6 separate regions of the Homo sapiens genome follow, and regions 1, 2, 3, 5 and 6 are each linked to region 4. Evidence: promoter capture Hi-C in human tissues and cell types (Jung and others, 2019). All regions are on one chromosome and are shown on one strand. The core of a region is centred on a gene start or on the middle of the fragment in contact, and the rest is flanking DNA. Distances in the headings are between cores, read along the strand shown.

The links. Contacts are between HindIII fragments. The study calls those that stand out against the background at their distance.
Region 1: a contact is called between a fragment that was not itself captured here and the fragment with the promoter of PSMA6 in region 4, in 2 of the 25 tissues and cell types used here (dorsolateral prefrontal cortex and hippocampus).
Region 2: a fragment that was not itself captured here is called in contact with the fragment with the promoter of PSMA6 in region 4 in 1 of the 25 tissues and cell types used here (hippocampus).
Region 3: a contact is called between a fragment that was not itself captured here and the fragment with the promoter of PSMA6 in region 4, in 1 of the 25 tissues and cell types used here (hippocampus).
Region 5: a contact is called between a fragment that was not itself captured here and the fragment with the promoter of PSMA6 in region 4, in 1 of the 25 tissues and cell types used here (hippocampus).
Region 6: a fragment that was not itself captured here is called in contact with the fragment with the promoter of PSMA6 in region 4 in 1 of the 25 tissues and cell types used here (liver).

The regions. Positions count from the first base shown.
Region 1 is chr14:35,428,605-35,431,304 of GRCh38, reverse strand. It overlaps the pseudogene DNAJC8P1. Among named protein-coding and RNA genes, the nearest start is that of NFKBIA, 25 kb to the right of the region's middle. The HindIII fragment of the contact is 3,253 bases long and covers 1-2,700 here.
Region 2 is chr14:35,140,157-35,142,856 of GRCh38, reverse strand. The region is part of intron 4 of PRORP (protein only RNase P catalytic subunit); the gene reads right to left. All of the region lies in intron 4 of PRORP-PSMA6 (PRORP-PSMA6 readthrough), which reads right to left. Among named protein-coding and RNA genes, the nearest start is that of PRORP, 19 kb to the right of the region's middle. The HindIII fragment of the contact is 3,860 bases long and covers 1-2,700 here.
Region 3 is chr14:35,061,253-35,063,952 of GRCh38, reverse strand. All of the region lies in intron 2 of FAM177A1 (family with sequence similarity 177 member A1), which reads right to left. Among named protein-coding and RNA genes, the nearest start is that of FAM177A1, 16 kb to the right of the region's middle. The HindIII fragment of the contact is 3,938 bases long and covers 1-2,700 here.
Region 4 is chr14:35,291,085-35,293,784 of GRCh38, reverse strand. PSMA6 (proteasome 20S subunit alpha 6) reads right to left here and starts at 1,403. Exons shown (of 7, transcript NM_002791.3): 1 at 1,233-1,403. The coding sequence starts at 1,308. The region is part of intron 9 of PRORP-PSMA6 (PRORP-PSMA6 readthrough); the gene reads right to left. RefSeq lists enhancers at 940-999, 1,080-1,199, 1,320-1,399, 1,116-1,702. The HindIII fragment of the contact is 27,585 bases long and covers 1-2,700 here.
Region 5 is chr14:35,522,694-35,525,393 of GRCh38, reverse strand. No RefSeq gene overlaps it. Among named protein-coding and RNA genes, the nearest start is that of INSM2, 10 kb to the left of the region's middle. The HindIII fragment of the contact is 5,921 bases long and covers 1-2,700 here.
Region 6 is chr14:35,092,243-35,094,942 of GRCh38, reverse strand. The region is part of intron 10 of PPP2R3C (protein phosphatase 2 regulatory subunit B''gamma); the gene reads left to right. The region is part of intron 1 of LOC101927178 (a long non-coding RNA gene); the gene reads right to left. Among named protein-coding and RNA genes, the nearest start is that of PRORP-PSMA6, 28 kb to the left of the region's middle. The HindIII fragment of the contact is 3,789 bases long and covers 1-2,700 here.

The DNA.
Region 1 (2,700 bases), core at 159-2,658, 140 kb before region 4:
AGAATATTACTACTAACAAATGCAGACAGGCTAGGACACCATGGTACTGGGAGGAGGACGGCTAGCTCTTTGGAAAGTGAAAGGTTTGGGTGGCGTGGGCCTCATGCCATGCTGATTGGTCAGTAGACAGGGGGCACATGCCAAACACCACAGGGCATCAGGGCATCAGGTGCCTGTTCTGTGTGCCCACAGGTGTTCCCTGTCTTATCTGGGCCTTCTAAGGGAGCACACCCAGAAGCGAGCAACTGAAGCCAAGGGGCTTCCAAAGTGCCCCTTCCAGGCCTGTCTCTGACGTCACAGCAACACCATTTTAAGTAATATGTTTAATTGGATGATTTCCACAAACTAGGACGAAGTTTCTAACCATCACAATTCAGTGAAGTACAAAACACTGAGTTACAGGCTGTGGGAAGAGAAGGCAGCACCAATGGTGCCACCTTCCAATCCTGGTTGTTCTAGGGGCAGGGAGGAGGAAGGTCTTTTTTTAAACCAGTCCCCTCATTTCATTGTACAAAAGAATTACTCTGATCGATATTAAATTGTATTCAAAACGAAACAGACTAAAAAGCAAATACTACTCTATGTTGAGGTGGAAGTGGGAGGAAAGAATGAGTCCTTCGAAGCAGGAAGGGAGATAGCAGGGGGAAGGTTCTGTGCCTGTGACCCCGGGTGGTCACTCATGCTGCTCCATTTTTACTTTCGGTGGTCTCAGGAAGGTCCGATTTTTCTTCTCTTTCTTCCCCTTTGTATTGACTTGGAAGTTTCGCCAGCTGTCCACACGACCATCTCGACCTTCCTCAAAGTTTTTCTGCCACTCTCTTTCTCGTTTGGCTTTTTCTTGAGCTTCAATCTCTTCTTCCCTTTGCCGTTTCCTTTCATGCATCTCTTTGGCTTCTCTCTCTTTCCTTTTAATTTCCAGCTGAGCAAAGAGTTTCATTTTCTGTTTATATACAGCTTGTTTGAACAGCTCAGGATCATCCTCCTCTACAATCGTAGGTTTTCCTTCCTTCTTTGATTGTTTTTTTTTTTTCTCTCTTTCACAGTGTGTTCCACGTATTCTTTTCCTGCCTAAATTACATCCAGGACCCTCTTCTTTTGCTCCTGATCAGTAGCAACTTGTAAGCTTTGTCCACAGTTTCAAAAGCCTTTTGTGCTCTGTCAGCATCATCTTCATTTTTGTCAGGATGCACCAAGATGGATAACTGCCGAAACCTCTTTTTTATTTCTTCATCTGTAACTTCAGGATCTATCTGAAGAAACTCAAATGGGTTCAAATTGAAGTAAGAGGAACCAGGACGGGTCAGTCTTTCAATGTGGTTTTTGGATGTTAGAACCAAGTCTCCCTTCTCTATTTGTTTCCCCTGAAGACAAGGCCCGGGAGAACAAGCACCAGGCAGTCCCAGGAAAACATTCTTGGTGTCACTGTCAGGGTTGGAATGAATATGAGGTATGCTGTATGCCATCTTTATTCCTCACTGTAGGAGGTCATAAATGCTTCCTCTGTGCCGCCTCCGCCGCCCAAAGTCCCGCTCTCTCCTGAAGCCGCCATTTCCCCACAACTTTTTTAAAAAGTTAAAATCTATGGGCAGAAACTATATTTAAGAGTGTAAATTGGCCGGGCGCAGTGGCTCACGCCTGTAATCCCAGCACTTTGGGAGGCCGAGGCGGGCGGATCACAAGGTCAGGAGATCGAGACCAACCTGGCTAACACAGTGAAATCCCGTCTCTACTAAAATACAAAAAAATTAGCCGGGCGTAGTGGCGGGCGCCTGTAGTCCCAGCTACTTGGAAGGCTGAGGCAGGAGAATGGCGTGAACCCGGGAGGCGGAGGCTGCACTGAGCTGAGATTGTACCACGGCACCCCAGCTTGGGCAACAGAGTGAGACTTCATCTCAAAAAAAATAAAATAAAGTAAAACAAAATGTCTTCAAGGGCTGCCTGTATGGACAGATGAGATGTTACTTCAGCTTAATAAATTAATATTCAATGTATTAAAGTAACAAAAACATTACTTAAGCTTTTTTAAAAATAGAGTGTAAATTAGCACAATCACTTTAAAGACAATTTGTCTAAATCTCATAAATTTGTAAATACACATATCCTATAACCCAGCAATTCTATAAAATTATAGCTAGAACAGTAATTCTCAAACTTTAGTGTGCGTCAGAATCACTGGAGAACTTATTAAAGTAGTTTGGTAGGCCCCACCCCACCCCACCCCCGTTTCTGATTCAGTAAGCATGGGTTAAAGCCCAAAAATTTACATTTCTAACAAATCCCAGGTCATACTGATGCTGCTGGTTCATGCATCACACTTTGAGTATCACTGCCCTGAAGAAACCATCATGGATGTGCCTAAGGGGACACATACAGAAAATATTCACCATAGTATTGTCTATCACAAGTAAGGAAATGGATGAATAAATGTAGAATATAGCAATGAAGTTACGTGAAGGAACAACATGAATCCATATGAGTAAATCTCAAATCATAATGGTGAATGGAAAAGTAATTTGCAAAAGGATACATTTAAGATACCATTTATGTAAGACTTAATAGTATTAATATCCATTATTTACAGATACATTCATATGTACCAAAAGTATGAAAATATAGGAAGAATACATATTGGCAAAGGAGTCAGGGAATTGAGATTGCAAAGAGCTTCAAAAGGGGCTTCAATTGTATCTATAACATTGT
Region 2 (2,700 bases), core at 77-2,576, 150 kb after region 4:
TTTTTTTTTTGAGACAAGAGTCTCACTCTGTCACCTAGGCTGCTGGAATGCAGTGGCGCGATCTCAGCTCACTGCAACCTCAGCTTCCTGGGTTCAAGCAATTCTCCTGCCTCAGCCTCCCGAGTAGCTAGGACTACAGGCATGAGCCACTATGCCCAGCTAATTTTTTGTATTTTTATTAGAGAACGGGTTTTGCCATGTTGTCCAGGCTAGTCTCAAACTTCTGAGCTCAGGCAATCCACCCACCTCGGCCTCCCAAAGTGCTAGGATTACAGGTGTGAGCCACCAAGCCCAATGCCATCTCTACCCTATCTAAAATTTTTTTTTTTTTAATTTAAAAATTAGCAGGGCAGGGTGGCATGCACCTGTAAGTCCTAGCTACTTGGGAAGTTGAGGTGGGAGGATTGCTCCAGCCCAGGAGTTCATTGCTGCAGTGAGCTATGATCACACCATTGCACCCCAGCTTGGGCAAAAGAGCAAGGCGTCATCTCTTGGAAAAAAAAAAAAAAAAAAGCAATGAATTTATAATTTACAGGATGAGCTTCCAGGTGTGGTGGCTCACACTTATTATCCCAGCACTTTGGGAGGCTGAGGTGGGAGGAATGCTTGAGCCCAGGAGTTCAACACCAGCCTTGGCAACATAATGAGACTCCATCTCTACATAAGATAATAAATTAAGGCTGGGCGCGGTGGCTCACGCCTGTAATCCCAGCACTTTAGGAGGCCGAGGCGGATGGATCAGCTGAGGTCAGGAGTTCAAGACCAGCCTGGCCAACATGGTGAAACCCTGTCTCCACTAAAAATACAAAAATTAGCTGGGCGTGGTTGCAGGCACCTGTAATCCCAGCTACTCAGGAGGCTGAGGCAGGAGAATCGTTTGAACCCAGGAGGCAGAGGTTGCAGTGAGCCGAAATCGTGCCATTGCACTCCAGCCTGGGCAACAACAGCAACACTCCGTCTTAAAAAAAAAAAATTGCCCAGGTGTTGTGCCACATGCCTGTAGTCCCAGCTACTCATGAGGCTGAGGTGGGAGGATCACTTGAGCCCAGGAGGTCTCAGCTGCAGTGAGCCGTGATTGTGCCACTGCACTCCAGCTTAGGTGACAGAGCAAGACCCTGTCAAAAAAAAAGTGGTCATGAGTTAATAATCATGGAGGATGGGGGTCCATTATGTTAGTCTCTTTTTGATTATGTTTGAAATTTTCTCTAATGAAAATATTAAAGAATTATTATCTTTGTAGTTGAATATAAAAAATCTGACTGTAATTTAATGTTATTATCAAGAACCATGTCTAGGCATAGTAGCTCACACCTGAAATCTCAGCACTTTGGGAGGCCAAGGTGGGAGGACCACTAGAAGCCAGGAGTTCAAGACCAGCCTAGGCAACATAGTGAGACCCCGTCTCTACAGAAAAAATTAAAATAAAAAAATTAGCCAGATGTGATGGTACACACCTGAATCCTAGCTACCCAGGAGGATGAGGCAGGAGGATTACTTCAGCCCAGGAGTTCAAGGCTGCAGTGAGTTATGATCATGCCACTGTATTCCAGCCTGGGTGAATAGTAAGAACTTGTCTCAAAAAACAAAACAAAACAAACAAACAAAAACAAAAAAAAAAAGAAAAAGAAGGAAGGAAAATAAGAAAAAAACCTAATTAACATTAAAGTAACACTATGCGCATAGCTCCAAATTCACTTTTTGACCTTCACTGATGCCCACTCAATTAGTGTCAGTAGTTAAATCAGTAGATGCAAATTATTTGGAATTCTGCTTTGTTCACTTAAAATTCACATATACCACTCTTTTCTCTACCTACTATCACTAATCTGACTTACACAGAAATGACAGATATCTTTCAGTTTAATATTTTAAAAAGTTCAACAAATCCTTTAACCTGATGGACTTGGTCATACCTAGAATAATTTTTATATGTTACATTATTGCCATCTGCTGGCTATGTTGTCTAATTACAGTAAACAAATGTTTAAAACAGAAAAGCTAAAAAATTACCTTATATAATAACTGAGATTTTTCTCCCAAAACTATTCAACAGAAAAGAAGCTGCCATACTTTAAGTTTCCTCAAAATCTCACATTAGAAGCAATTGTCCTTGATTCTAGCTGCACTTTAAAATCACCTGGAAGCTTTTGAAAATCCTAATACCTGGACCCCACCAAGCCAAAGCAATTAAATCAGAATCTCCATGTTATGAAATGAAAGTCAACCACAGACTGACAGAAAATATTTGTAAAATATATTGGACTTAGGACTTGTATCTAGAATATAGAAACAGTTCTTACAACTCAATAATGAAACAATCCAATTTTTAAAATAGGCAAAAAATCTGAACAAATAAATATTATACCAAAGATATATGGATGGCAATTAAGCATATAAAAAGATGCTCAACAACATTAGTCATTAGGAAAATCTAAATTAAAATCACAATGAGATACCACTTCATACCTATTAGAACAGTAAAGAGACTAACCTTAACCATACTAAGCATCAGCCAGGATGTGGGGCTACTATAGCCCTCATACTCTGCTGGTGGAAATGTAAAATGGTACAACCACTCTGGAAAACAGTTGGGCAGTTTCTGAAAAAGCGACACACACACACACATATCTACCATAAGACATCTACCATAAGACCAAACCATTCCAGTCCTAAGAGAGTTACCCAAGAGAAAAAAAAAGC
Region 3 (2,700 bases), core at 96-2,595, 230 kb after region 4:
CCTCAGCCTCCCGAGTAGCTGGGATTACAGGCTTGTGCCACCAAGCCCAGCTAATTTTTGTATTTTTAGTAGAGATGGAGTTTCAGGGTTTTACCATGTTGGCCAGGCTGGTCTCAAACTCCTGGCCTCAAGTGATCTGCCCACCTCAGCCTCCCAAAGTGCTGGGATTACAGGCAAGAGCCATGTAATGTGGCCCAAAAGAAAAAATATAATTTTAAAGCTTTAAACTTGATATTTCAAAATTGGAATCATAAAGCAAATCAATTTTATAAACTCTAAAATGATACTAAATCTGGGTGCAGGACTAGATTTGTTATTTCAAAAAGAAAATGACACTAAATAGGAACTATGGAGAAAATTTATTTATTTATTTTGAGATGGCGTTTCACTCTTGTTGCCCAGGCTGGAGTGCAATGGCGGGATCTTGACTCACTGCAACCTCCACCTCCCAGGTTCAAGCGATTCTCCTGCCTCAGCCTCCCAAGCGGCTGGGATTACAGGCACCCGCCCCCATGCCTGGCTAATTTTTTGTATTTTTTTTTTAGTAGAGACGGGGTTTCACCATGTTGGCCAGGCAGGTCTCAAACTCCTGACCTCAGGGATCCACCCACCTTGGCTTCCCAAAGTGCTGGGATTACAGGCAAGAGCCACCATGCCTGGCCCCAAAGGGAAAATATAATTTTAAAGCTTTAAAATTGATATTTAAAAATTGGAGTCATAAATCAATTTTATAAACTCTAAAATGATACTAAAATCTGAATATAGAACTAGATCTTTTTTTTTTTTTTTTTTTGAGATGGAGTCTCACTCTGTTGCCAGGCTGGAGTGCAGTGGCGCGATCTTGGCTCACTGCAATCTCCGACTCCCGGGTTCAAGCCATTCTCCTGCCATTCATCCGCCTACCTCAGCCTCCCAAAGTGCTGGGATTACAGGCGTGGTCCACCGCACCCGACCTTTTTTTTTTTTTAAATGATACTAAATAGGAACTATAGAGAAAATTTAAAAAATAAGTTATGGGGTTTCAATCTCAAATCGAGTTCTAAAATTACCTTAAGTAAAAAAAAAAAAAAAACCGCAAATAAAATTTCTTGTGCTACTTGCTATATTTGCTTTATTAATTAATACTACCATATATTTTTCTTTTCTTTTTTTTTTTTTTGAGACAGGGTCTCACTTTGTTGCCCGGGCTGGAGTACAGTGGCATGATCATGGCTCACTGCAGCCTTGAATTCCTGGGCTCAAGCAATCCTCTTGCCTCAGCCCTCCAAAGCAAAGATTATAGGCATGAGGCACTGTGCTCAGCCAAGTCACTTTTCAGTGAGTTTTCATAGATATTATCTCATTTAATCTTTAAAAACAACTACAGGTAGGTGAGGCAAGTTATCTCTCTTCTTTGTAATCATGGAACTTTAACTACAATGAAAGTTAAGTCTTTGTCAAAGCAAGGTGACTACTACAGGACAGAGCCAGAACTAAAAACCAAGTTTCTGACATCTCATGGTACCTCTCAGTGAAGAAAATATAAAAAGATTTCTTATCACCCAGGGATCTGTTGGATTGGGCTTCACAACTCAGGGAAATTCCAACATGAATATGCTATATACATGGTCATTAAAGACCTTAATAGTGGATATAGACCTCTATCATAACAGCATGAGGAACTCTGGGCCCACTTCCCAGTAAAACTGATGAAATTTATTAAAGAATAAACATTTAAAGCACCTGGAAATGGTCTTAATGGCATATAAATGAATAAACATCTATTCAAGAAAATCTATGAAAATTTGGTAACAAAAGCAAACGTCTGTGGTAACTGAACTAAGACCACTCCCTCTCAGCACCCTCCCAGCAAAGGAAGGCAGAAACTGCACTTCAGACTGGTACAGCCAAGAATACAGGGTTCCCCCTCCCCTCAGCTTCCAGTTGGGTTTTCTTCTCAGGAGGAACAGAATATTAACCAGCACTTCTCATCTATTACTGAGGCCAATTTCCAGGTAAGTGTGGTTGACAGGGGGTGACTCTCTTCTTCCACCAGCCTCTGCTCACAGAATGGAGGCTCTACCTTGAGCATGGCACCACTGAGAACACCAGGGCCCTGATCGCCTTTACCCAGTTCATAAGGCAGCAGAGGCAAGTTCTACGCCAGCAGAGGCAAGTCAAAAATACTTACAGCTTTTTTTTTTAATATTATTATACTTTAAGTTTTAGGGTACATGTGCACAATGTGCCAGTTAGTTACATATGTATACATGTGCCATGCTGGTGTGCTGCACCCATTAACTTGTCATTTAGCATTAGGTATATCTCCTAATGCTGTCCCTCCCCCCTCCCCCCACCCCACAACAGTCCCCAGAGTGTGATGTTCCCCTTCCTGTGTCCATGTGTTCTCATTGTTCAATTCCCATCTATGAGTGAGATAAAAAAAAAAAAAAAGAAATGAGAAAAAAACAAATAGACATTTGTAAAACAAAGACTAAAAAAAAAAAAAAATACTTAAAGCTACTGACCCCACCTCCCATAAATGCTCAGCTCCTAAAGTGAAGGTGTTATTCAGACAGAAATGAGCCATTGTCCCCACCCCCAGCTCCAAAACCTTGGCTCAGAGATTGCCCTGAGTGAGAGGCAGAAGGGCGGGGCTGGGGTAGGGGAGCCAGCCAGGACAGGAAACAAAGCAGACAACTCCTAATCTCTTCCCAAAGG
Region 4 (2,700 bases), core at 154-2,653:
TTAAAACTCAGGAATTTAATACAATAAATGAAAATTCTTTGAGGATACAGTTATCTCTTTGTTCTATCTTTAATCATGTTTTTCAATTGGGGATAAATTAAAAGGGCTACTGAATTATCCAACAAGATGTTTCTTGCTACATTATATACACTATGCAGTAATACACTGAGCAGTTTCATTCCAAGTTATCTTTAACTCTATTTCTAAAATTTACAGGTGAAGAGAACCTCATTTACAGACCAACTCTCTCCTTATGATTCCAAGCACAGATGATTATATTACTGTGCAAGACACGGAGCCACTAAACTCATTCAAAAATAAAACCATCACGGACCAGATGTAAATCAAGCCCTCCTGACACTAAATTCTCTATGGTAAGAGATCAAGGGTCTGGCTTATAATCATAACCTAAACCTTGACACCGTTTCAGCGCAATACATTACTATTCCGAGTAACTGATAGTTTCTTTCCACTACAGGTGTTCTTCAGTAAACTAGTACACAGTACCTCATCTACAACTCAGAATCGGCATTTAAATTACAGGAGCATTCAAACAGATGTGGGTAAAAAGGGGATGCCAATCTCAAGAGCAGCTCTAGAATTGAGTCACTCATTCTATCAGATTCCCAAAGATGTCTTGAACTCTGTAGATATTTGTAAATTGGCACTTTTAATTTTTTTTATCCGTTTGTTTAACGTATCTGTCACTCTAAGCTGTGAGCTTCAGTATAGAAGAGGGTGTAACATTCACATTTGTATCTCCTAGGACTAGCAGTGTCTGGTATATAGCAGGCTTCGAGTGCCTGTGTGGAATTAACCACAGAAGTCCATGCTGCAAACAAAGGAAAACGGAGAGGAGGCATTTTAGTTGAGACGTTAAGGAATCAATTACCCTTTAGAAACAGACCTTGTGCCTGGCCAGGACAGAATACAATAACTGAAGGGGCCTCACGAAGCCGGAGTCAGGCATTACAGCCCTATCTTCCTTAACTCTCCATTGGGTCTACGCAGTGTGGCCGCTCGCCCTGCAGAGACAGGCCTTCAGGCCCCCGATCCCTGCGTCCAGACGGGGGTGCAAACACCACAGAGCTCAATCCAGCTTCAGCCGTTCTCCCTTCCCAGCTCCAGCCCAGCTTCGGCCCCAGACTAAACCCGGGCCGCGTCTGCTCGCTCCAGGCACGTACCATGACAGGGCAATTCAGGTGGCCCACAGGCGAACCTGGTTCACTCACCTACTTGGTAGAGCCGACCCTCGGGTGAAAAAATGGTAATGTGGCGGTCAAAACCGGCGCTGGAACCACGGGACATGTTGGTAGAAGCACTACTTTAAACACAATCCCTGGGCCCCGTAGCTCCCGCACCAGGCACACAAGCACCTCCCGGAAGTTGCAGCGACTGCTTCCGGGGTACCAGCCGCGTTTCTTCCGCTCTTGCATGCCGAACTCACGGCTCTGGAGCCAGTTCGAGCACTGAGCTCTGAGGCCCCGCCCCCTAAGGGGGTGGTGGAGTGAGGGCGGGAGGCCTTTGAAGGTATGCGCCTGCGCCAAGCAGGCCTCTTGAGTGGATAGACGTGAAACTTGGGTCGTGGCGCTTTCAGGCTTTCATCTGGAGAATGAATTGACTATAGCAAGGACGAAAAGGCTTCCTGGGGGCCCAGAATAGCGATTTGCCTATCAGTGTGACCTAAATAGAACGTGTAATTAACAAGTCTCTTACATGCATCCTGTGTCTGGTCAGACTGCTGGCTTGCCTTCTTCCTAACCTCTTTTATCCTCCACTTTCATTCCTATTACGGGGGAAACAGGTTGCAGCTGCAGCTGCAGCCGTTAAATTTAGGCACTGAAGGAAGCGGGTTCAAGCAGCCGCTGGAAAGAACATTATTTTCTGACAGCCAGGCAAGATCTTCTTTTGGCCAGCAGCCCCGACAATTTTTAGTCTTTTTTTTTTTTTTTTTTTTTTTTGAGACAGAGTTTCGCCCTTGTTGCCCAGGCTGGAGTGCAATGGCGCGATCTCGGCTGACTGCAACCTCCCCCTCCTGAGTTCAAGCGATTCTCCTGCCTCATCCTCCCGAGTAGCTGGGATTATAGGCGTGTGCCACCAGGACCGGCTAATTTTGTATTTTTAGTAGAGGCGGGGTTTCGCCATGTTGGTCAGGCAGCTCTCGAACTCCTGAGCCCAAGTGATCCACCTTCCTCGGCCTCCCAGAGTGCTGGGATTACAGGCTTGAGCCACAGTGCCCAGGCAATTTTTAGTCTTGAAAGCGGAGGCCGGGCGCGGTGGCTCACGCCTGTAATCCCAGCACTTTGGGAGACCAAGGCGGGCGGATCACGAGGTCAGGAGATTGAGACCATCCTGGCTAACACGGTGAAACCCCGTCTCTACTAAAAAATACAAAAAAAATTAGCCAGGCGTGGTGGCGGGCGCCTGTAGTCCCATATACTTGGGAGGCTGAGGCAGGAGAACGGCGTGAACCGGAGAGGCGGAGCTTGCAGTGAGCCGAGATCATGCCACTGCACTCCAGCCTGGGCGACAGAGCGAGACTCCGTCTCAAAAAAAAAAAAAAAGAAAGAAAGCCTAACTCCAGCCTGGCCAACATAGGAAGGCCCCGTCTCTACAAAAAATAAAATTAGCTGTGCGTGGTGGCGCGCGCCAGTAGTCCCAGCTACTCGGGGGGCTAAGGTGGGAGGATGGCTTGAGCCC
Region 5 (2,700 bases), core at 6-2,505, 230 kb before region 4:
TAACACGATGAAACCCCGTCTCTACTAAAAATACAAAAAATTAGCTGAGCGTGGTGGCAGGTGCCTCTAGTCCCAGCTACTCGGGAGGTTGAGGCAGGAGAATGGCGTGAACCTGGGAGGCGGAGCTTGCAGTGAGCCAAGATCGCGCCACTGCACTCCAGCCTGGGCAACAGAGCGAGACTCCATCTCAAAAAAAAAAAAAAAAAAATCAGTGCTTTGAAGTAATGTCAGTTTGAAAAATCCTCAGCAGTTAACTTTTCAGATAATTGCTTCTATTTTGTCTTATCTTTTTTTCTCCTTCTAGAACCCTGGCCAAACCTATGTTAGACATTGTCACTGTACCTTCTGTGTCTTTTTCCTTCTTATATATATTTTTTTCTTTTCTTTTCTTGCCTCTGGAATATTTCTTCTGATGTTCTTCAGGTTTACTAAATCTTGAAGTATGTCTAATGTAGTATACACTTAAAATCTGTTGGATTTTATTATTTATTTATTTATTTATTTGTTTGAGACGGAGTCTCGCTTTGTCGCCAGGCTGGAGTGCAGTGGTGCAATCTTGGCTCACCGCAATCTCCACCTCCTAGGTTCAAGCGATTCTCCTGCCTCAGCCTCCCGAGTAACTGGGATTACAGGTGTGCACCACCATACCCAGCTAATTTGTGTATTTTTAGTAGAGACGGGGTTTCACCATGTTGACCAGGATGATCTCGATCTCCTGACCTCGTGATCTGCCTGCCTTGGCCTCCCAAAGTGCTGGGATTACAGGCATGAGCCACGGCACCTGGCCCTGGATTTTAAATTTGTATTTTAAAAATTAGCTATAAAATTTATTTTTATTTATAAAATAAAAATATATTTAAAATCACAATAAAATTCTATATGATTCTTTTTTCAAAGTCAAACCTGCTGCGTTACTCTTTGTGGTTTTCTGTTCTCTGTAGACAGCATCAAGTTGGTCTTTTGTCTTTAAACATACTCTTCATAATTGTTTTGTAGTCTTATTTTATAGTCTGAGTCTGATAAATTCAATATTTGAGTTATTTGTGAGTCTGTTTTTATTGTCTGTTGTCTCTACTGATACTTGCCCGTTTAATCTAGTTTCCTTATGTATCTGTTATTTTTTTATTAGGTGCTGAACATTACATTTGAAGAATTATTTCTAGAAATGATTTTAGGCCTATAATAAAGGTGTCTTGCTTCAAAGAGGATTTATATTTGCTTCTGGCACTACCAATTTAGAATTACTTTAACCCAAGTTCAAGGCTTAAAATTCACTGACCCAGGCAATTTGAATACAAGCAGTAAATTCTCAAGGGCTTTGGAGTCCCAGTATCTTGTTGGGGAGGATCTTCTATTAGATTTTCTATCTTATACACATCCTGGGTTTTTCTTTCTGTCTCCCTTGCCCTGCAAGTCTACCAGAATGAAGATTCTAATTGTCATGAGTCAGAAAATTTCCTCAGGGCAGAACAGTCTCCACATATGGGTTCCCATTTTTCCTTCACCTTTAGTAATTCCTTACTGTGTTTCATACTCTTTTATGCTTTAAGAATATTTTTAAAATCCAGCTCTGTTAGTTATTTTCACTAGGAGGATTTATCTGCTTAATTTAGCCTAACATTACCAGAACCATTAAATCAGAACAACATTTTAAAAGTTTTTGGTAATTATTACAAAGCTATCCTTCACAATGATTGTGCCTATTTATACTTCTGTCAGCAGGCATAGGAGTGCCACTTTTCCTGTTCTCTCAACTATGTTCTGTCAAACATGAGAAAAAATATTGCCAGTAAGATAAGTAAAAAGTGTAGCCGGTCACGGTGGCTCACGCCTGTAATCCCAGTACTTTGGGAGGCCAAGGCAGGCAGATCACTCGAGGTCAGGAGTTCAAGACCAGCCTGGCCAACATGGTGAAACCAGTCTCTACAAAAACTACAAAAATTAGCTGGGCATGGTGGCGCTCGCCTGTAGTCCCGGCTACTCGGGAGGCTGAAGCAGGAGAATTGCTTGAAACCGGGAGGAGGAGGTTGTAGTGAGCCGAGGTCGCGCCACTGCACTCCAGCCTGGGTGACAGAGTGAGACTCATCTCAAAAAAATAAATAAATAAAAGTGTTGTTTTGCGAAAATAAACTTGTATTTTATTATTAATGAAGTTTAACATCTTATAATCTATTTATTGAAATTGTAATTTTACTCTTTGTAATTTAACCTATTCAAATTTTCTGTTTATTTTTCTCAGAGTCCTTTGTTTATTATATAGCTGGTTCCACCAGAAAAAACCATTTCAGTTATTAAAATATTAAAATACTTCCATAACATTAGCAAATAACCACTACCTTTCCAAATGCTCTTCCCCTTGACTCTGGTCAGTTATTGTAGCCTCTTCACTACCCACCTCCCCATTATCCATCAGCTAAAGAGTTAACGCCCAATATACCAATGGGGCTCTAGGGCCCTGCTCCAGCTCTATGGCCATTATCAGTTCTGATTGGATAGTAACCATTTCATAATATTGTTAAATATTTTAACATAACCCCTGTGGATACATAAAGTATTTTTCCCATTTGACAATTGACTGACTGACTGACTGACTGATTGATTGAGAAAGAGTCTTACCCTGTCACCCAGGCTGGAGTGTAGTGGCACAATCATGGCTCAATGAAGCCTTGACTTCTCAGGCTCAAGTGATCCTTCCACCTT
Region 6 (2,700 bases), core at 96-2,595, 200 kb after region 4:
TTGCTCTGTCGCCTAGGCTAGAGTGCAGTGGTGTGATCTCCGCTCAATGCAACCTCCACTTCCTAGGTTCAAGTGATTCTCCTGCCTCAGCCTCCGGAGTAGCTGGGATTATGGGTGCATGCCACTGCATCCAGCTAATTTTTGTACTTTTAGGAGAGATGGGGTTTCACCAGGTTGGCCAGGCTGGTCTTGAACTCCTGACCTCAGGTGATCTGCCTCCCAAAGTGCTGGGATTACGAGGCGTGAGCCACCACACTCGGCCCAGCATTATTGATATCACTGTGTAACAGTGTCTTTAAAATGTGTAAACTGATCAAATTACTTGAGATTCAGAGTCTTTGGTCTTAACGTAAATTAAAACATCTGCATTATGGCCTCAGGGCAAATAGAAAAGCTTATTGTTCATTTCATTGTCAGTGCACCTACTGTACAGTAGTGCATTCTAGTTTTTTTTTTTTTTTAAAAAAAAGCTGAGGCCAGGCTTGGTAGCTTATGGTTATAATCCCAGCGCTTTGGGAGGCCAAGGCCACAGAACCACTTAAGGCCAGTCGTTCAAAACTAGCCTGAGCAATACAGCGAGACTGTCTCTACAAAAAATAAAAAAATTACTTGGGCATGGATGGAATGTGCCTGTAGTATAGCTACTCGGGAGGCTGAGGCAGGAGGATTGCTTGACCTGAGGAATTTGAGGCTGCAGTGAGCTATGATGAGGCCACTGCACTCCAGTCTGGGCAGTAGAGTGAGACCATGTCTCTTAAAAGCTGAAACATTAGTAAATTATTCTGGCTATTTTCAGCTAGATAGTTCCGTCATTAAATTACCAGGTCAAATGTAGTAACACATATGCCATGATTTAATTCTGAGAATCAGGTTGTATTAGTCTCTAGAAGTGGCTATATGAACAGCTGAAGATAACATGCACTTGTCTTTTTATTATAACAATGCAAAATACTTGAGAAGGAAAATTCTAAACAGCATTTTAAAATCACCATTTTTGCTGCTAAAAACATGGGTTAAGAATCTGATAACTTTGGGAGGCCGAGGCGGGTGGATCACAAGGTCAGGAGATGGAGACCATCCTGGCTAACACGGTGAAACCCCGTCTCTACTAAAAATACAAAAAATTAGCTGGGTGCGGTGACGGGCACCTGTAGTCCCAGCTACTCCAGAGGCTGAGGCAGAATGGTGTAATGGTGTGAACCCGGGAGGCGGAGCTTGCAGTAAGCCGAGATGGCGCCACTGCACTCCAGCCTGGGCAACTGAGCGAGACTCCATCTCAAAAAAAAAAAGAATCTGATAAATTTCCCAAACCAGTTATGCTTAAAAAATAGTCATATTGTCATGAGAATGGGGGGGTCTTACATTTATCATTTAGCTTCAATAGCAGTTTGCTAAATAACACCATTAGTAACAACAAAAGAAAAGAGGGGAAAAGGCACAGAAAATTTACTTTGTAACTCCCACAGCTGTAAACAATAGACAGTGAGGAGCTTATATTATTAATATAATGATTCCTGATGAATAGAGAAAATCAGGCTACAACTATGGATGAAGTCAGATCACAATCTGCATTCTTTAACTCTTTAGTGCTATTTATGCAGAAAGGAACTTTTCTAAGAATATAAAATTTTTATCTAAGTGAGAACCTCCCAATTACTACTTTTTACCATTAAAAAAAAAATCTGAGTATCCTGTTTTTTTGTTTTGTTTTGTTGTTTTTGTTTTTGTTTTAGATGGAGTCTCCCTCTGTCGCCCAGGCTGGAGTGCAGTGGCGCGATCTCGGCTCACTGCAAGCTCCGCCTCCCGGGTTGACGCCATTCTCCTGCCTCAGCCTCCCGAGTAGCTGGGACTACAGGCGCCCGCCACCATGCCCGGCTAATTTTTTTTTGTATTTTTAGTAGAGACGGAGTTTCACCGTGTTAGCCAGTATGGTCTCGATCTCTTGACCTTCTGATCTGCCCGCCTCGGCCCCCCGAAGTGCGTATCCTGTTTTTATAGGGAAGGCTTTCTGTTCTCTTCATGTCTTTCTGGCCTTTCCATTTTGCCTTTTTATGGATGAGAGCAGTGTCAGCTCACTGTAAAATGTCTGGCAATCTCAAGACAGCTTCTTATTGGAAATCTGAATTAAAAATTTTAAACAATATTTTAAAATAGCAATTTAAATATACTGTTCTGAGACTGGGCACGGTGGCTCACACCTGTAATCCTAGCATTTTGGGAGGCCGAGGTGGGTGGATCACCTGAGGTTGGGAGTTTTGAGACCAGCCTGACCAACTTGGAGAAACCGCTTCTCTACTAAAAATACAAAATTAGCCAGGCGTGGTGGTGCATGCCTGTAATCCCAGATACTCAGGAGGCTGAGGCAGGAGAATGACTTGAACCTGGGAGGCAGAGGTTGTGGTGAGCCAGGATCGCGCCATTGCACTCCAGCCTGGGCAACAAGAGCGAAACTCCATCTCAAAAAAAAAATTATACTGTTCTGTTCATTCCAGATAAAAAATTTGTTTTTCAAAATAACTGCACTGAAATGAAGTTATAAGTTTATAGCTTAGTCATCTGTTTCAAAAGTTTGAAGCAGGATGCAGTAGTTCATCCCTCTAGTCCCAGCACTTTGGGAGGCCGAGGCCAGATGATTGCTTGAGCCCAGGAGTTTGAGACTAGCATGGGTAATACAGGAAAACCCCATCTCTACAAAGAATT